Linked DNA regions of Homo sapiens: region 2 is linked to region 1. The links are contacts of gene promoters, found by promoter capture Hi-C in human tissues and cell types (Jung and others, 2019). All regions are on one chromosome and are shown on one strand. The core of a region is centred on a gene start or on the middle of the fragment in contact, and the rest is flanking DNA. Distances in the headings are between cores, read along the strand shown.

Evidence for each region. The method cuts DNA at HindIII sites, captures the fragments that hold promoters and counts their contacts. A contact is called where the count stands out against the background at its distance.
Region 2: a fragment that was not itself captured here is called in contact with the fragment with the promoter of NR1I2 in region 1 in 2 of the 25 tissues and cell types used here (bladder and liver).

The regions. Positions count from the first base shown.
Region 1 is chr3:119,779,205-119,785,597 of GRCh38, forward strand. NR1I2 (nuclear receptor subfamily 1 group I member 2) reads left to right here and starts at 2,897. Exons shown (of 9, transcript NM_003889.4): 1 at 2,897-3,096. The HindIII fragment of the contact is 9,150 bases long and covers 1-4,443 here.
Region 2 is chr3:119,718,067-119,723,689 of GRCh38, forward strand. The region is part of intron 6 of CFAP91 (cilia and flagella associated protein 91); the gene reads left to right. Among named protein-coding and RNA genes, the nearest start is that of CFAP91, 18 kb to the left of the region's middle. The HindIII fragment of the contact is 8,574 bases long and covers 1-5,623 here.

The sequences.
Region 1 (6,393 bases), core at 1,647-4,146:
ATTCCTATTCCTAGCCTTTTTGGGTAACTTCTACTACCTCCACTTAAGGATGAAAAGGGAGAAGTTTCCTCCAAGACTGCCTCATGGGGATCAGAGTGTCACCTCCATGCTCCTGCCCTAAGTGCCCCTGAGCACACCCCAGAGGGAGGCTAAGAGATTTTTGAGAAAGACCATGTGACTGGCTGATAAACACCTATTTTCCTCAGATTCCACCTGAATTTATATCATCAGTGCATCACTCTTTTATTTTGTTCTCTCTGTTCCTCTTTTTAAATATTAATATTCTCTGGAGAGGGGTAAAACATTAAATGAATTCACACTGAGGAAACTGGCCAGGTACAATGGCTTATGCCTGTAATTTCAGCAATTTGGGAGGCCAAGGCAGACAGATTGCTTGAGCCCCAGAGTTTGAGACCAGCTTGGGCAACATAATGAGACCTCGTCTCTACAAAAGAAAAACAAAAAAAAAAATTAGCCAAGCATGGTGGCACACACCTGTAGTCTCAGGTATTTGGGATGCTGAGGTGGGAGGATTGCTTTAGCCCAGGAGGTTGAGGCTGCAGTGAGCCATGACCATGCCACTGCACTCCAGCCTGGGTGACACAGCAAAACACTGTCTCAAAAAAAAAAAAGAAACTCTTCAGGCTGATCAGATCTGCTTTTCTCTGATGAGTTTCTTAGGAGCTCTACATTTCTGGTTGCTGCAATAGGCAAAGTATAGAATGGAGGTCAAGGCCTCAAATTTCTCTGACTTCCCAGCTGGGCTTGAGAGTGACTCTGGCCCTCAACTGAGGGCATTAGTAAGCTGTCCTTAAGAACGAGAGTGTATTTTCTGGCTGTATTCTTAACTCATTTCACTATAGAGCCATGTCTGATATTAACAGTGCAGTGCTAGACTAGAGAGGCCTGGCACTCCTACAGCCTTCTCCTGTCTTCTAGCTGGGACTTCACACCACAGACCCAAAGGAAAAGAGACCCAAAGATCCCTGCAGAAACCTGAGAATATTTCCTTTACCTCAGTGGTTTCATAATCTGTTCTTAGTTTCCTGTTTCTGCTGTAAATAATTCACTATATTTTTAAGAGAGAGAAGGTCAGGCCCTTGTGAGCCAGAAGGGATTTGAGAGATGATGAAAGCTACGTATGTTACCCATAACCTAAGGACTTCTGGCAAGGTGGCCTACCTGAGCTGGAGTCATGCCTTTTTTCCCTGGACTTGGAGATACCTGTCAGTGCAGAAAGGCCTACTTTTGATCTTGGAAATAAGTTTCCTGGGGTGAGTTCTTAACCCTTTCCAGCTTTCCCACCCTCTTTGGCTTTAGCCATGGCCTTCTGATCTGTGTTTCTCAGGGGACCTGCAGGCCCCAGATATAGCCCCATGCTGTCCTCCTACCCCAGAGCACACTGTTCAGGCTACTTCCACTGGTACTGAAATCCAGTATTTCACTTACTCTTTTTCTTTCCAATATCCTCATGACATTCAATATTTCACTTACTCTAGGTCCTCCCTGCCTAAGGCCCAAGTCAACTTTCTGTCCAGTGGGATTTGTAATCCAATACCTCCTAGCCCTAGCAGAATCCCATGTGGATAATCAGAAATGTGACTGGAAAAAGGACAGAGCTCTATGGCTGTGGGTCCCAGTCCCCACTGCTGGCAGTAAGTCCCCAGCAGTGAGCTGTGTAAGCACCTTACATTCTGCGCTTGGTTGAAAACAGCAAGGCAAGCATCCACTTGAGAAATGTCAACCCCTAGGAAATCCCAGCCTCAAGTCTTTCTCATCCCTTGGGAAGTGCAAATTGGATAGAGAAGAAACCAATTAAAAACAAAACAAACAAATCATACTTAGATATTCTGGCTTTTCTCACCAGGGCTGGATTAAAGCATGTACTTCAAAATAATAACAACTTAAGTCAATAAATAAATGTAAGGAAGTCCAAATGTTCACCTGAAGACAACTGTGGTCATTTTTTGGCAATCCCAGGTTCTCTTTTCTACCTGTTTGCTCAATCGTGGTCTCCCTCTCCCTCTCTTGTTGGGGCCCATGCCCCTGCTTTACTGTTGCCAGAGGCTTGTACTTGTTTGCCTTTTAGGTAGGAGCAGTTACTTCCACTCCCCTCACCTGCCATAAAGCATCTTTATAAACAAAGCAAGTAGAAGAAACACATCCTGGTATCCACCACATTCGGCTTTTGTTGATTCTGTTCACTTGGGAGCACCTGCTGCTAGGGAATAAGAAGGTTGAGGCTGAAGAGTGAGGACTCTTCAGCTCCCCTCTGGCAGGACCCGGGAGAGGAAAGAGCCCTCAGCTGGTCCATCCTCCCCACTCCTGGTCAGCCTTCTGTTCTGAGATCAAAGTGGTGGGGTCACATTCTCGAGAACTGTGCTCAGCCCCCTCATCTCACACCCTTTCCCTCTCCCTGTGTGCCTGCCCCCCTCTTACATAACCATGCTGGTGATTGGCACCGTCATAAATCAATACTTTGCTCACTTTCACATCAAGTAACACTATCCAGGGAGGTGGTTTCAACAAAGGAGGAAGTATAAGGAGATCTAGGTTCAAATTAATGTTGCCCCTAGTGGTAAAGGACAGAGACCCTCAGACTGATGAAATGCACTCAGAATTACTTAGACAAAGCGGATATTTGCCACTCTCTTCCCCTTTTCCTGTGTTTTTGTAGTGAAGAGACCTGAAAGAAAAAAGTAGGGAGAACATAATGAGAACAAATACGGTAATCTCTTCATTTGCTAGTTCAAGTGCTGGACTTGGGACTTAGGAGGGGCAATGGAGCCGCTTAGTGCCTACATCTGACTTGGACTGAAATATAGGTGAGAGACAAGATTGTCTCATATCCGGGGAAATCATAACCTATGACTAGGACGGGAAGAGGAAGCACTGCCTTTACTTCAGTGGGAATCTCGGCCTCAGCCTGCAAGCCAAGTGTTCACAGTGAGAAAAGCAAGAGAATAAGCTAATACTCCTGTCCTGAACAAGGCAGCGGCTCCTTGGTAAAGCTACTCCTTGATCGATCCTTTGCACCGGATTGTTCAAAGTGGACCCCAGGGGAGAAGTCGGAGCAAAGAACTTACCACCAAGCAGGTATGGTTTTTCTTTCTTTCTCTTTTGCTGGGGGCTGACCGCCCTTCAGCTCCAGCCAAAAGATGTGTGTGAACACAAATATACCTTCTGTTTGAGGTCAGCATCATAGTGGGTCGTGAATCATGTTGGCCTTGCTGCTGTCTCCTCATTTCTAGGGTGGAAAAAAAAAAGCATGAAAACAATCACTTAATGTTGAGCCCCATTACTGATGCTCTCTGGTCCTGCACTAGCCTCCTAGAAAAATCACCACAGGAGAAGCCTTAACTACTGCATGAGTTACCACAAGTCACACATACAACCAGCTCCCTGTTACAGGGCTGGAGTCCCTGGACCCAGGAAATACCACCTCCAAGGACTGTGGGAGCTGGGGACTATGGGAACTGGGATCAACTCAGTCCTGATTCCTTTTGGCCTGCTGGGTTAGTGCTGGCAGCCCCCTGAGGCCAAGGACAGCAGCATGACAGTCACCAGGACTCACCACTTCAAGGAGGGGTCCCTCAGAGCACCTGCCATACCCCTGCACAGTGCTGCGGCTGAGTTGGCTTCAAACCAGTGAGTTTTCTACCTCTACTATTGAAAGGGCACCTTGTCCCACAGAACCGAGTCTTGCCTGCATGTGGTCAGTGCCACCAGGTCCTTCTTCTCTCCACTTTACAGCCCAGCTCGGCTGAAGCTATGGCCAGAGGCACTGCTTTAAGGCCACTCCATATCTAGGACAGGTCAACAGACACCTCTGAGGCCACTGAGTCTTGACTCAATGAATCAGCTATAGCAGGCACTATTCCTCTCCCACATGGCCTCTAATGATATGGTCAGAGTTGAAAGGATGCTAAGGGAGGCCTCAGAGGCTTATTTAATCAGTTGGTTAATGGGAAAAAGTATTTTGTGGTACACAAATACGCTTTAAAAATATTTTAGTTATGTCATAAAAGTCTAAACCTGGGGTTGACAAACTATGGCTCACAGGCTAACTCTGGCCCACCAGCTGTTTTTATAAATGAAGCTTTATTGGAACACAGCCATGCCCATTCGTTATGTATTGTATATGGCTGTTTTTGCCCTACAACATCCTTTCAACTCTGGCCATATCATTAGAGGCCATGTGGGAGAGGAATAGTGCCTGCTATAGCTGATTCATTGAGTCAGCAAAATTGACCAATTGCGAAAGAGACAGTATGGCCCACAAAGCCTAAAATATTAACTATCTGGCCTTTAACAGAAAAAGTTTGCCAACTCCTGATCTAAAAGCTGTCAACTTGTTCCAAAATTATTATGGAATAAACCCAAGACAACCACAAAACTGACTAGACTAGGTTTTTTAGGTAATAACTTTTTAAATTATAAAGTAATACATGATTTCATGCTCCTTGAAAATGAGAAAGCAGTATAGATAAACCTAAATTCACCTTTGGCCATTCTGTCAATCCTAATCTCCAGTTTCCCCAAAAGTACTTAGTGTGATATATTTACTGCCAGACCATTGTGTCTGTGTGTGTGTTCATCTATGCATAGATGGACTATTAAACCTATCTGTTGCCATGTTGTTCTAATTCTGTTTTTCCACTCAATAGCAAGACTTGGAGACTTTCCATATCTGTATAGAGCTCTACTTCATTTATTTTAACTGCTACGTCATATTTCACAGTGTACACTTCTTTTATTTAGCCGTTTTCTTTTCGATAGATATTTAAGCTTTTCCAATTTTTCAGTCTTACCAATGAACCTCACTGTGTTTGTCTGCTTCTAGACATGTGCACGTATTGCACTAGAGGAACTACTAAGACGTTGAATTGCCACATCACAGGATATATGTGGTTCAATTTTTGGCTGCCAAACAGCCCTCCACAGTACCCGAACCGACTGTACTCCCACCAGCAGAGAAGGATAGTTACTGTTCCTCCACACTCCAAACAATGCTTGCTGTTTATTCAGTATTTTATTATTTTTTCCATTGAATTAGTGCAAATGACAACCCATTATTTCAATATTTTAATTTCCCTGATTATTAATGAAGTTGAGCATTCTTTTTATAGGACCCCTCTTGGCCATTGTATTTCTCTTCTTAAATTACCTATTCATATCCTTAGCTTATTTTATGTCGGATTTTTTTTCTTCTTTGTAGGAGTTTTTTATTTATTCTCAATGCAAATTATTTGATATGTGTGTAATATTCTCTCTAAGCTTTGTTTAAATCATACTTTTTAGCCAACAGAAATTTTTACTATTATTGTTGTTGTTATTTTGATGTAGTTGAATCTGTTAGTTTCCCTCTTTCTGGATTTTACTCTTTGAGGCTGATTTTTAAAAGATTTCTCAACTTCCAAAATTATGAAGCTACTTTGGTGCACCTTCCTGTAATACTTTTATTTAAAAAGTTAGTCTTTATTCACCTGGCACTTATTGCAATACATTATTTCAATACTATTTATTGAAAAGTCCATCTTTTTCCTATTTGTTTGAAATATCACCTCTATCATGTACTAAATTCCCACTTACACATGTCCATTTCTGTGTCCTTTTGTATTTATTTCCTATTCCTGAGCCAATTTCCACTATAATGTTTACCTTTTCTACTTGATTTTTTCCCCCAATAAATAGAAAATCTATTTTGTGTTTTGATATTTTGCCTAGTTACCTTATGGAATTCTCTTAATAGTTATAAAAGCTTATCAGTTGATTCCTTTGGAATTTCTAGTTAGACAAACATATCATCTATATATAGTAAGAGTTTTGCTCCTTCCTTTCCAATCTTTACAAACCTTAATTTTTTGTGTCTTATTGGTTTTTCTTTGCCATTCAGCATAATGCTGAGTAGTAGCCATGAAAGTAGATAGTCTCAGAAGTGATGCATACAGTTGTGTGGGTTCTATACTGCACAATTCTAGGAGATACTCTTTACAAACACTTAGATGTCCTAGGAATTCTTGTCATGTTCCTGATTTCCATTTTTATTTTGTACTATGAACTCATTTGGAAACTTCTCTTTGGGACTTGTTGAGATTGAAATTGTTTTCCTCTAGAGGATTTATTTTTGCTTTTGCCAGGAACCTGAGGACAGAACTAACTGGGACCACCATAAGCTTGGGGTCTACTGGCCACACAAATAGTGAGAATCCTGACCCAAACTTACTTGATTGCAGGCCTGTTGTTAAGAATTTCAAAGGAGACTTTTCTTTTTGCTCTACCCAGAGCCAAGGCTGAGAAGGCCTGGGATAGACCTGTCTCCCTCCATGGTTTCTACTGAGGATGTCACCCTTAGGGGATCTTGAGTTTATAGTCTATGATCTGGTTAGGCTC
Region 2 (5,623 bases), core at 749-3,248, 62 kb before region 1:
CTGCAGCTGGTCTCCACCCAAGAACCCCAAAGCACACAAGGAACAGAGACACCAGGAGTGACCCACAACAAATAAAGGAAATGGAAGAATAAATTTCTGAGTAAACAGAAAATGGAGCAGTCTGAAAAGGACTTAGGAAGTGCTTTCTATATTCTCAAAAGGATGAGGGGGAAATAGCAACACCAAAACAAGAATGGGAGTCATGAAAAAGAACCAGTTGGAATCAAGGGGGAGGAAAACTATAACGTTTGAAATAAAGTGAACTCAATAGTAGAATAGACGGAGCTGAAGAGCAAATTAGTGAAATGACAGATTAAATGGACACATATTCCACAATGCAACATATAGTGGTAGAACAAGATAAAAGAAAAGTAAGAGCTGTGGGGGCTAGGACATGAGTATAGGGAAAATGGTAGAGAAGCAATGCAAGAATCAGTGGCTGAGAACTCCCCAGAACTAAAGAAAGACATTAGCCTTCACACTGAAAAATTCCACTGAGTACCAAGCAGAATGATTTTTTAAAAACTCACACCTCCTAATAAAAGAGAAAGAAAAAGTGAAAAAACTATTAGAAAAACTATTAGAAAGATAACTCAGATTACCTACAAAGAAAAAAAAAGATGGATATTTTGTAGTATTGCCTTTAAGGTGCTGTGGGAAAATGATTGCAAACCTAGAATTCTTTTACCAGGCAAACTATTATTGAGGAGTGAAGGCGAGATAAAGACATTTTCATACATAAGAAGAATATCTATCTCATAGGATACTGTAAGGATTAAGTAAATTTATTTATGTAATGTGTTCATACCTACAATCCAGCAATTTCACTCCTAAGTATACATCAAAAAAAAAAAAAATGAGCACATTATTCTGCTAACGGAAATGCATAGGAGTGTTCACCAAAAGACATATACAAGAAAACTCACAGCAGCATTAATTATGATAACTCCAAACTGAAAACAACCCAAATGTCCATCAACCATAGAATGGATGAATGAAATATAGTCTATTCACATAATGGAATTCTATATAATAATGAGAATGAAGTACAACTACATGTGATTACAAGGGAGATTGTAGATGTGTATATAATTGCGTATATAATGCTGAACAAAATAAGATACAGAAGAGTGCCTACACTGTGATTTCATTTACATAAAATGTAAAACCAGTCAAAACTAAATTAACGCATTAGGAATGAGAATGGTAGCTATCCTTGGGACAGGTAGTGACTGGGAAGGGAGTATCATGGGCATTCTAGTGTTCTGGTAATATTCTATTCCTTGATCTGGGTGCTGATTATATGGGATGTTTGTTTTTGTTTATGTATGCTGTACATTCATGAAAAGTTTACATAAAGATAAGGGAAAAATAACGACAGTGAAAAAGGATGACACTGTAAGCACTGCGGGGATAAAATTAAGTGCTTATGATGTGTCAAGAACTGATCCAAGTGCTTTACATTTTAAACCTATTCAGTCTTCACATGTTAAATGAATAATAAAGTTGAAACAAATAGTTGACAATACAGATCTTTTAAAAGGCAAAAGAAATGGTCATTAGGGCCATAAGTAATTTTCTAATGAAGATTAATAATACAGCCAAGCCTCTTGTAGGAAGCATCAAGAAAGAAGACAGAAGATGCAAACAGAGTATTGGGATAGAAAGGGGGACAGAGTAACTACAGAATAAACAACTTAAGAAATACGAGAGTGCTATGAATATCTTTTGCCCTATATTTAAAAACTTAGAAAGGCTGGGCGTGGTGGCTCACACCTGTAGTCCCAGCACTTTGGGAGGCTGAGGCAGGCGGATCACTTGAGGTGAGAAGTTTGAGACCAGCCTGGCCAACATGGTGAAACCCCGTCTCTACTGAAAATACAAAAATTAGCCAGACGTGGTGGTGGGTGCCTGTAATCCCAGCTACTCAGGAGGCTGAGGTTGCAGTGAGTGACCCAAGATTGCACCACTGTGCTCCAGCCTGGGTGACAGAGCGAGACTCCGTCTCAAATACATAAATCAAAAAAAAAAAAACTTAGGGGCCGGACGCGGTGGCTCACCCCTGTAATCCCAGCATTTTGGGAGGCTGAGGCAGGTGGATCACGAGGTCAAGAGATCGAGACCATCTTGGCTAACATGGTGAAACCCTGTCTCTACTAAAAATACAAAAAAAAAAAAAAATTAGCTGGGCGCGGTGGCGGGCGCCCGTAGTCCCAGCTACTCGGGAGGCTGAGGCAGGAGAATGGCGTGAACCCGGGAGGCTCTGCTTGCAGTGAGCCGAGATGATGCCACTGCACTCCAGCCTGGGCGACAGAGCAAGACTCTGTCTCAAAAAAAAAAAAAGAAAAGAAAACTTAGATAAATTATACAATTTTTAAAGAAAATGTAAATTACTAAGTTGGTTTTAAGAAGAAATCACAAACCTGAATAGAAGAGTAACTATAGAAATTGACCTGGTAAAAAGAAAAAAAAATTCTTTTAAGAGCACCAGGCCTAAACAGTTTTACAGGTAAGTTTACCACACCTTTAAGGAACAAATAAACTGCTTTATGCAACTTCTTTCAGGAAACACAGAATAAAAGTTAATTTATTCATTTTATGAGACCAGTATAGCCTTAATTTGAAAACTGAATGAGGACAGTACAGTTATTACTTAGTATTGGTAGCACATTGATTTTAGGACCCTCCAACCCTACCAAGATTTTTGGATGCGCAAGTCTCTTATGTAAAATGGCATAGCATTTGCATATAACCTACACACATCCTCCCATATATTTAATCTCTAGATTACTTATAATTCCTAATGCAATGTAAATTATACATAAATAGTTATTATACTGTATTGTTTAGGGAATAATGACAAGAAAAAAGTTTGTACATGTTCAGAACAGACACAGTTTAAAAAAAAATAATTTCAACCTGCAGTTGGTCAAATCCACAGATGTAGAACCATGGATATGAAGGGCCAACTATACTAGTAAGGAAACTTACAGGCCAATCTCACATATGAAGAAATATGCAAAAAAATTCTAAATAAGATACTAGCAATCTAATCTTGCTGTATTTTAAAAGAGTGACTTATAACCAGATGGAGTTAATCAGAGAAGTTCAAGTTTGTTGCAATACCAGAAAGCCATTCATGTAATTTACCATTTTAACCGAAAACATAGGAAAAATCCTCTGGGTGCAGGAAAAAGTATTTTATAGCATGCAGTGCTCATTTATGACATATACTCTGAATAAACTGGGAGCAGAAGGAAACTTTAGAGACTTAATAAGGAATATCTACCACAGCCTGTAATAAACATCATACTAAAGGTGAAACTTCAGAAGCTTTACCTTAAAAGAAAAAGACATTGGTAATGCTCATTATCACTACTATTTAACAACGTAGAGGAGATCTTAGCCCAGAGTTTATCAAGCCTGGCTATGATCTCTCCTTTCAGGAACATTTGGGAATATGAGTGGCATTTTTCTATGTAATAATGATAGGAAGTGCTTCTGGTATTTAGCTCGTGGGACAGGGTATAGCTGATAGGCTGGCATGGATACTAAACATCCTGTACTGCTTGGGGGAGTTTCATACAAATAATTATCTGCCCATTATGGCAATAGCACCCTGGTTGAGGAACACTGAGTCAGTGCAGCAAGATAAGAGAAAAATGGAGGCATGGCGATTAGAAAGAAGCAGCAAAACTATCCTTATTTGCACACGTGCTCTCTTAGAAAAATAAATTATCAGAACTAAAAAGAGAGTTCAACAAGAAGTCAACATACATCAGTCGCTTTCCTATATGAGAGAAATATCCAATTAGAAAAATTGTTGAGGCCAGGTGCAGTGGCTCACACCTGTAATCCCAGCACTTTGGGATGCCAAGGCAGGAGGATTGATTGAGGCCAGGAGTTTGAGACCAGCTTGGACAACATAGTAAGACCTCCATTTCTACAAAAGAAAAATTAGCCAAGTGTGGTGGTGCACACCTGTGGTCCTAGCTACTCAAGAAGCTGATGCAGGATTGCTTGAGCCCAGGGGTTCAAGGTTACAGTGTACAGTGAACCATGATCTTGCCACTGTATTCCCACCTGGGCAACAGAGTGCGACCCTGTCTCTAAAAAAAAAAAAAAAAAAGGAAGAAGATGAAAGAAAGAAAAAGAAGAGAAAAATTATTTAGCTGAGGTCAGGAGTTCAAGACCAGCCTGGCCAACATGGTGAAACCCCGTCTCTACTAAAAATACAGAGAAATTAGCTGGGCATGGTGGCATATGCCTGTAGTCCCAGCTACTCGGGAGGCTGAGGCAGGAGAATCACTTGAACCGAGGAGGAGGAGGTTTCAGTGAGCCAAGATTGCATCACTGCACTCCAGCCTAGGTGACAGAGCAAGACTCTGCCAAAAAAAAGAAAAAAATCTTGAAAAAAATTACATTCATTTATTTGTTTTAGAGATGGAGTCTTACTCTGTTGCCCAGGCTGAAGTGTAGTAATGTGATCATAGCTCACTGCAGCCTCAAACCCTATGGCTCAAGTGATCCTCTCACCCCATCCTCCCAAGTAGCTGGGGCCACAAGTCCACACCACCATGCCATGCTAATTAAAAAAATATATTTTTTTGTGGAGATGGGGTTTCATTATGTTGCCCAGGCTGGTCTCCAATTCTTGGACCTAGAAATTCTCCTGTCTCGGCCTCCAAAAGTGCTGGGATTACAGGTGAGCCACCGCACTTGGCTGAAAAAAATTACATGCACGGTAGCAATGAATAACAAAGTGCCTAGGGAATCACTTAATAAAAATGTACAAGGGATTTATGGTGAAAAGTATAAATTATTCTTTAAGCACATAAACAAAGATTTGGTGAAAAGAGAGAAAATATTTATCAATGGGAAACTCATGCTTGAATAGATAAGACTTCTCCCTCAAATAATTTATACCTTCGAGTAGTTCTAATCCAGATTCCCACTCTCAATATAACTATGCCTGGGTAAATTAGCACTTTTCATCTTCTCTTCCCAGAAATTATACAAAAGCAAAAGCAACAATACTCCCACGAACTCCATTTTCAGTAAAACTAAAAATATATGTAATTCATGAACCAGTAAATATTTGTAAGGACTGCAAAAAGCAGCTGAGATTGGGCAGATGCAATGTGGGAGGAAGTGAAGCATGCACCGTGGGAGAGGAACCATTAGGGGATCTCAGAAGGCAGGGGCAAAAATATACTTCTGAGGGTAAATTAAGCAATATCCAGAATTAAAAATAATCATATTTTATGATGTAGCTGCTAGACTCTAGCATTTCTACTTCTAAGAATCCTAGAGAAGCTCACATATGGTACAATGAGACCAGTACAAGGATGTTTGTTGCAACATTATGTATGATCAAAAAATTAAAAGCAATCTAAATGTCATTTGAGAAGATAGATAGCTTAAATTGTAATAAAGCCTTACAGTGGAAGAAGGAAACTAGATCTGTATATATCAGTACAGCTAGGCTTCCAAAACAAAGATGAGTAAAAAAAGCAAGCTGCAGAATGAATAGCTATAGTACAATACCATGTATGTAAATATTAAATAAACATCAGTACTGTGTCTTGCTTCTATAGAATTCATTTTTGGTTCATATTTGCTT